Linked DNA regions of Homo sapiens: region 1 is linked to region 2. Evidence: promoter capture Hi-C in human tissues and cell types (Jung and others, 2019). All regions are on one chromosome and are shown on one strand. The core of a region is centred on a gene start or on the middle of the fragment in contact, and the rest is flanking DNA. Distances in the headings are between cores, read along the strand shown.

The links. Contacts are between HindIII fragments. The study calls those that stand out against the background at their distance.
Region 1: a fragment that was not itself captured here is called in contact with the fragment with the promoter of OR5H2 in region 2 in 4 of the 25 tissues and cell types used here (bladder, lymphoblastoid cells, mesenchymal stem cells and 1 more).

What each region holds. Positions count from the first base shown.
Region 1 is chr3:98,054,308-98,058,680 of GRCh38, forward strand. No RefSeq gene overlaps it. Among named protein-coding and RNA genes, the nearest start is that of GABRR3, 21 kb to the left of the region's middle. The HindIII fragment of the contact is 5,422 bases long and covers 1-4,055 here.
Region 2 is chr3:98,280,958-98,285,360 of GRCh38, forward strand. OR5H2 (olfactory receptor family 5 subfamily H member 2) reads left to right here and starts at 1,548. Exons shown (of 1, transcript NM_001005482.2): 1 at 1,548-3,113. The coding sequence starts at 1,946. The coding sequence ends at 2,875. The region is part of intron 1 of LOC105373999 (a long non-coding RNA gene); the gene reads right to left. The HindIII fragment of the contact is 8,138 bases long and covers 1-4,403 here.

The sequences.
Region 1 (4,373 bases), core at 95-2,594, 230 kb before region 2:
ATCCTCTTAAAACATTTAAAACTAAGATTTCCATTTGGTTTAAAAGCAATTTTGAAAAGTAACATGTTTCATTGCCTCCATTGAAAGATATGTAAATGTAACAACAAAAATACTAAAAGTAATTCAAATTTCTGCAATATAGTTAGAAAATTTCTGAGTTCTTCTAAAACTTTTACTTTTTAATTTATTGAGTAGTCCTACTGAGCACTGCATTCCTGACACACATATCCTACCTGAATAGTGTTTTCTGGCATTGACACCTGCCTGAACCAGCAGGTGTGCTTGATCAACTGTCAGTTAAATATATTAAGCTAATTTTTTTTCTTACCTACATTGTGTATATATTCTATCTGGCCCTTTCATGAGTAGGCAAACTTTGACCTCCTTACTTTTATTACTTAGACTCTTGAGAATACTCAAGAGAGTATTCTCTTGAGAAAATACTCAAGAAAGATTTTTCCATATGCATAATACATTGCTTTTACCCTGGCTTTAAAAAAAAGTGAAGAAATGGCAGTTTGTTGAATGATATAACCCAAAGCCCCAAATGAGGCACAGTGGCTTTAGGAATAGTTTGTTAGGGTTCAGTTTTTTCAGAACCCGGTTCCTCTCATTGCATCTGAGCTGTGCCTTCTGCTGTGGGGACTCCATTTTAAGCAGGTGTACCCTGTGGCTGCAGAATCTCTGCAGGAGTTCCTGTCTCCATCTCTCTATAGTCAACCCCAGCGACAAAGTGTTCTAATTTTATATGTAATATGCCATACAGGCTGATTAGTCTTGCCTACATAGTGGCCGTATGTCAATGTATAACCTTTCTCTCTCATCATTACACCTATATTATTTCAAGAAAAATCCCCACTGATTTGGGTTGAGACCTAGAGACCAGAGTACTACATTCTACATGCTTTCCTCAGCTAGATTCACATAGAGCAGGACTGACATCCTCACACTCCCCGAGAGGAAAACAGCCACAGGCAGCTATATAGTCAAAGGGGACAATAGTTTTGCAAATATTAAACAATGGAAATTAATTTCTTATTTTAACATTTTTTTTCATAGTTTCTGAGGTGGGAAAAATCTAGTACTTGACCTTTTAACAAGATAGCCTGAAGAGCAGACTTTTAAATTACTTATGTCTGAGTCCTGAATCATGTCCCTTAAAGAGGCAGTTCATTGGCTGAGCAGAAATCCCAAATCACAGAGCTGTACTAATTGGTTAGTTAATTAGGGCACTCCCAGGTGAGAAATGTTGAAGACTGGCAGACACTAACTTCCATTGTTCATCCAAGTCCGTTGGCACAATCTGTGGTTTGACTTTTAGAGGTGTTAGTGCAATTCTCTCACAATCTCCTAGCTCCACTTTAGAATGCCTGCACCTTAGTTACCTCAGTTTCTTTCATACAACCTTAATTACCTCTGAAGCATGAATTCCCCTTTGCCAGGTAACCTAACATATTCACAGGTTCTGGGAATTAAGATGTGTACATATGTGGCAGGAGCATTATTGCGTACATCAAAGGTAGACTTGGAAAAGAGTGTGTTTTGTCCAGATTCCAATTTATGGCACTAGAAATCATTTCTGGCTCTGCTCCTTCCTTACCTGGCTACCTCAAAGTAAACTTGGTTTGCAAAGTACGTAGGCAGCAGACCCTTGAAGGTTAAGCTTTAGAGGCTGGTCCCCATCACCATCTTGCATGGCCAGGACCTGCAAATTCCTGCAGCGACAGAAAGAAGCCAAGAGACTCACTCATGCAACAGGTGGGTTGGGACATGTAGGTGGAGGACATAAGAGAGACCCTGAGGGGTGACCACATCAATGAGACCCAAGAGAGTCAGAACAGCCTTGGAGGGCAGCTGGGACCCTACCCATACTAGTTGACCAGATCAATAGTTCCAATAGGCACTGACTTTGGCTGTAAAAGCTGGCACCATGCCAAGCCCAGAAGAGTCAGACAGTATTAGTAGGACAGAGACCTTCACTTTACTCCCAAAAGATCACAGGCCTTTCCCTGCTCCATATTCTCATATTCATCTCAGAGGTTTACATGAAAAAATTAAAATTAGTCAAGTTAATTTTCTGTCATTTAGAGCATGACAGCTCTTGCTATATCTATTCCATGAACTGCTTAACAAAATCATTGATTAGAATCACAGACTCCGGTCATCTCCAGGCTGAGGTCATGACCCATGAGAGAATGGATCGGAAGTAATAGGATACGGGACAATCGACTAACCCCTCTTCTTAAACTCTGGACTTTTGGAGAGTTGTTTTCACTGAGAAAAGCCCAAGTCCAATAGTGATAACTCAGTTCATAAGTGATGGCCTGGGACATGCTGTAGAGACTAGGTGTGGGAGGACATATTCAGAGTCCCTAGCTGAGTCAGAAATAGAACCTGCAGCTTGTCTCACAGGAGCCAAGGCCAACATGAGAGATCCTGGCAGATTGGGAAGGGACATCACATGAATCGTGCAAGAATCAGCTCATCCACCTATTTCCACACAAGCTAGGCAACTGAGGCAGAGATGGAACTACAACTTGAAAGTGAACATGAGCATATGAGAGAGGAGAAAGAGAAGAAAAGATTGAGGAGACAGCCTACACTTTCTGACACCATTACAAAGATAACTGCTCAGCCTCCAGTGGGTCCACCCTATGCTCATACCTACACAAGGGAGGCCCTGCTGACCATGTAGCTGGAATTCCTGGGACAGGGATGCATTATACTGTGGATGGAGGGAGCTTCCTAGTAGGAGAAAAGACTTTCATCCAGTAACCAATTTTACTTAGCCAAACTACAACAGAACATAGTAGAAAATTCAACTCAGGTCTTTCTAGAAGCAAGGTAAGCAAACTTAGCAAACTTGAGTCCATTCAAAAGACTCTTACCCTAAAAAAGAGTAAGAGTCTTTTGAATGGACTCATGTTTACTAAGGAGAGAAAGTAATGGGGAGGAAGAGAATGAAAAGTATTAATTTTCTTTTATCAGTTGCCTCTCTGAGTATAGAGCTGGTTCCATAGTTTGCATAAGGGTTCTATCTGTCTGGGAATATATTTTAAATTGTTGTAGAAGTAATGCAAAGAGAAAAAAAGGAATTCCTCTTCTGACTTCAAAAACAGGAATTTGTCTTGAAGGAATATTACATTATTTTACACAGATTTTTAGTATATTAAGAAATGAACTGGAAGTCTTAGAGATTAGAGTTCTATACTGTAAATATGGCTATGTCTGCTAGGCTAAGCCTGGTTTCTTCATCGCACAAGGAGAATACAAAGTAAGAGAAGTAAAAAATGAGCCCATATTTTCTCACTTAGTGGTGAGGGGAGAAGAGTAAGTGGATAGAGAGCAAAGGGAAGCAGTCAGGTAACTATATCCCAATTTTGTTGTTACAGGCTCCAATTTGGAGTTTCAGAGGTTTGTAGATAGTTTTAATAGAGCCTGAGGGAGGGAAGTCTTCTAGCCAGAGTCTTGTTTTAGAGTGTAGAAAGGAACCAGTCTTTCCTGCATAACACTGGGGCATGGCCTGCAGCATGGCTAGGCAGAGGGTGGCCTAGAAGTTTTCCTCCCTCTATGTGTTGTGATGGGACCAGGAGCCCCAGAGTATCACTGAGGGGAGCACTCAGGCTGTATGTGACCTTCTATTTGGGTGATATATGAAATTCCTTGAATCGATAGGTAATTTAATTTGCTCTTATGTAGCTCTCACTGAACTCAGGTATTTACTTCTTATGCAACTCCACACTGCTCTAAAACTGATTTTTAAATGAAAAAAAACTAGTTTTGTGCTTTCACTATTTACAAAACAAAATTCAGCACTATATAACATTTCCTCCATACCCTTGAGCAATATCTTTGGAGATGAGTTTCAAGTTACTACAGTGCTGCAGAGCAGGAAACCTTTGACTTGGAAGCCATGAACAAACCATAAAAATCCACAAAGAATGAAATGTACCCCTTTATACAGGGAGACTTATGGACGTTTTCATTTGCAAAATGTTAGAGGCAACCTTTACAACTCAAGAGGGCTGTTGTGTAAATATACTTTTTTTCTTTCAGATTCTGTGACTTAACACTTTTCAAATAGTCTAGTTCTTGAAAGTGGTTAAAGCATCTCAGATAAAGTCAGGTCATAGGTTTCCCTGGCATTTAAAGGATTTGCAAATTCCTGTGGTCTTTTTTAGAACAAGCAGCTCTATCCAAAAATAGACCATCAAAGGCTTCTACGTTAGTTTGTTCTCACACTACTGTAAAGAACTACCTGAGACTGAGTAAGTTATGAAGAAAAGACATTTAATCACCTCACAGTTCTACAGGCTTAACAGAAAGCATGACTGGGAGGCCTCGGGAACCTTACAATCATGATGGAAGGGGAA
Region 2 (4,403 bases), core at 298-2,797:
ACTTAAACAAATCAGCAAGCAAAAAAATGTAACCCTATTAACAAATAAGCAAAGGACATGAACAGATCCTTCTCCAAAGAAGACATACAGGCAGTCAACACACATAAAAAAGAAATGCTCATCATTAATCATCAGAGGAATGCAAATCAAAATCACAATGAGATACCATTTCACACCAGTCATAATGGCTATTATTAAAAAACAAAACATGCTGATGAGGCTGTGGAGAAAAGGAAAGGCTTATACACTGTTGGTGGAAATACTTTAGTTCAGCCACTGTGGAAAGCAGCCTGGAGATTTCTCAACAATTTGAAACAAAGCTACCATTTGACCCAACAATCCCATTACTGGGTATATACCCAAAGGAAATTAGGTCATTATACTATCAAGTATTTTTGGTGCTATGCTTTTCTTTTCTTAATGTACTCTCCAATAGGTAAGACATCCATTACTATGCCTTCAACTACTCCAGTGACTCCCAAGTTATTTCTATCACTCTAGTAGAATTGTATTACTAATACCAAACATCTCACCTACATATTCAAGGCATGCTCACACTGCAAACTTGTCAATGCCCCTGAGTTCTCAGTCTCTATTTTGAATGACAATCTACCTACTCACAAAGTGACTCCTTTTTCCTTCACTGAATACTACTTTTCTATCAAATATGTGACTAAGTCCTAGTGACACTACTTTCTGAATGCTTTAGAATCTATTTCTTCATCCTCATTATTTGCAAGATTATAATACACATGGACTAGGCACTTGCAAACTTAAAATTCAAAGCCCCCCATCAACAGAACGAACCCCCTCTTGGCCAAAAGTTCTCCAGAAAAACTGTAAAAACTTAGTTCTCAGCCATGACAGGGTGGGAAGTCAGATGTGCCTTGTTATACTTCCTCTCTTTTGCAATTTAGACATGACAACTGACCGGTATTAATGTTAAGATAGAGATTATAAGACTGACAGAACATATTCTTTGTGACAATAAGATTCCAAATTATAAACAGAACCTAAGGCCACACCAGGCAAGGTTTAAGTCAGGCACCTCTACACTTAAAGAATAAACTGTGTTCTAACTGCCACAAGGTTTTTCTTTTTCTCTAGTAGCTAAACAGGCACTGGCCTCAAGACAAGCAGGATTAAAACAATTTGCAGCTGCACCAGATGCTCAGTAACTGAACCCCTGCTACCAGACATAACTACAGCTTTGATTGGACAAGAGACTGATGTCAGTAACTTTCTCCAGATAAGAGGAAAACTGACCACGGACTGGTTCTGGCTGGTTTACAGAGACAGTGCATTTATGGGCCTTCATGTCCTGAGAAGACCTTTTGATGTATAGGGCCTAACTGTAACAAATTTAAATGTTAAGTCTCCACTCCAATGTGAACATGGGTTGTATGTTACATACATGTTCAATATGCATGTGCCAAGGCTACCTTCATGAATACTCATAGATCCTCCCGTAACCTGTTGAATATGTATATTTAGCCAACTTATTTAGCCTAAAGCTCCTACCTCAAGCCCTCCTCCTTTGATGTGCCTGTTTCTGGTCTTGGCCAGAGGCATGCTTCCCAGCACACTTGATGGCCACCTTGCAGGCTGTAACCCCTTATAAGAAATAAGTCTTCTCTCCTTTTCTAAATTTACAAATAGTGATTTTCTTAAGTTAACACACATTACATGCATTTCTATCATCTGCATTTTAAAAGTAGATTATTTGATCACATTTTTAGAATTAAAATAATTGCATTTATTTTGATTTCTTATATTTCCCAAAACAGTTTCCATCTATTACAGGAATATGAAAGAAAATTAAAAGGGTATTGTAATAAGAGTATGTTTTTCTATCAACTTCCCTCCCCCAGTATTTGCTGTATAAGTCTTAGTGAATGCTCTTTTACATTTACTGCATTTCATTTCAGGGATGTCGAATGAGGACATGGAACAGGATAATACAACATTGCTGACAGAGTTTGTTCTCACAGGACTTACATATCAGCCAGAGTGGAAAATGCCCCTGTTCTTGGTGTTCTTGGTGATCTATCTCATCACTATTGTGTGGAACCTTGGTCTGATTGCTCTTATCTGGAATGACCCACAACTTCACATCCCCATGTACTTTTTTCTTGGGAGTTTAGCCTTTGTTGATGCTTGGATATCTTCCACAGTAACTCCCAAAATGTTGGTTAATTTCTTGGCCAAAAACAGGATGATATCTCTGTCTGAATGCATGATTCAATTTTTTTCCTTTGCATTTGGTGGAACTACAGAATGTTTTCTCTTGGCAACAATGGCATATGATCGCTATGTAGCCATATGCAAACCTTTACTATATCCAGTGATTATGAACAATTCACTATGCATACGGCTGTTAGCCTTCTCATTTTTAGGTGGCTTCCTCCATGCCTTAATTCATGAAGTCCTTATATTCAGATTAACCTTCTGCAATTCTAACATAATACATCATTTTTACTGTGATATTATACCACTGTTTATGATTTCCTGTACTGACCCTTCTATTAATTTTCTAATGGTTTTTATTTTGTCTGGCTCAATTCAGGTATTCACCATTGTGACAGTTCTTAATTCTTACACATTTGCTCTTTTCACAATCCTAAAAAAGAAGTCTGTTAGAGGCGTAAGGAAAGCCTTTTCCACCTGTGGAGCCCATCTCTTATCTGTCTCTTTATATTATGGCCCACTTATCTTCATGTATTTGCGCCCTGCATCTCCACAAGCAGATGACCAAGATATGATAGACTCTGTCTTTTATACAATCATAATTCCTTTGCTAAATCCCATTATCTACAGTCTGAGAAATAAACAAGTAATAGATTCATTCACAAAAATGGTAAAAAGAAATGTTTAGATTTCATAGTGATATCTCTCATTTTCAGTAAAAAGAATTTTGCAGTTAGATAAGGTGTTTTGCTAAGTGTTCAAAGTTATTGTAAATATAATTGTTTTAGCATTTTAATGACTTAGGGTTTTATACCTAATAAACTCCTTAAAATATTTATATATGTTATTCAAAAGCATCCAAGGAATTTTAACCTGGTGTTCATGTTATATTAGATAATTAAAGCAGAAAACAAATGAAAACATTTATAGGTTAAATACTCTTCATGTGGCTTTATAAATGCCTTAAGTGTTAAAGCACTGTAGTTCCTCTCAAAAGTATTTGAGTAGGAAATATAATACAGCTGACAGAATTGTATAGTGTGGAAACATCACATTTAACTGGATTGTGGTGGCAGATTTGTGTTTGGTTGAGCCGATAAAGATCTCAGGAATCAGCTGTCCCTCAAAAGGTCTTTTACTCTAGATTATGGAATTGGCAAACTTCACTTCTTATAAGAATTTAACTCATATATCACTTGAAGCAATAAATAGAATGGGAAATGCAATCATAAAATGAGAAGTGAGTTAAAACCGTCAATGCAAGGCCAAACTCTAAGAGGGTACTTTTATCTCTATTCCTTTCTATGAGTAATAAGAAAAGGCAACTTGCCTCTCTTTATTGACGATGCCTTCAGAGGCCTTTTACAGTTGTATTTGTATGACACTGGAAAACATGAAAAGATTCATATTGCTAACGAATTCAGAAAGCTAATAGATAATTTAAAAATTAAGTTAGCATGGATGTAGAGAAGAAAAATGCCAGAATAGAAAGTAAATGGTATCAATTTTTCTAGCATTAAAAAAATGAAAACAATAAGAAAAGGAAATCAGTAATATTTCCATAATTATTAGCATTTGTTATGGATAAAAAGTGGCCTTAAATGCATATTGCCAAAGATCAAATAATGCTAAAATGATATGATCTCATCGTGTCCAGTGGGTGGCTGCGAAAGGTGTGAAAATAAGCAAGAGTATGGATGTTTTGTGACTCAAAAGTCCTTACATTTTAGCTTTCCTCACACTACATCCTCTTGCTGTATTATGAGTAATCCATCTTCAGGTCACCCCTACTCTTCCTCTTTCAACACTAAAATTTCATCTATATTCCTATGTATATCATTTCATCACATTCCCATTTATATCACCCAGGTCCCCAACCTGAAACAACTCACCTGTCTGTTTTGCAAGACTCTAGTTAGTATCTCCCTTATCCTTTTATAGTCTCTTATTTCCTAAACAATGCTGCCATATAATTTGTGCATTTAAGTTTAATTAATTCATGTCCTACTTAATTACCTTTTAATGGATTGTCATTGCTAGCAGATTATATGCATATGTGGTACATATATCTATATATGAATATATACATATGGATATGTTTGTTTATATGTCTGTACAGATTGTATAATATGCATATATATGCCTCAGCTAGTATTTATTCACCCTGAATTATTTGAGATCTTTTGCAAAAAAACTTCTTGGTTTAACTCTGGAGA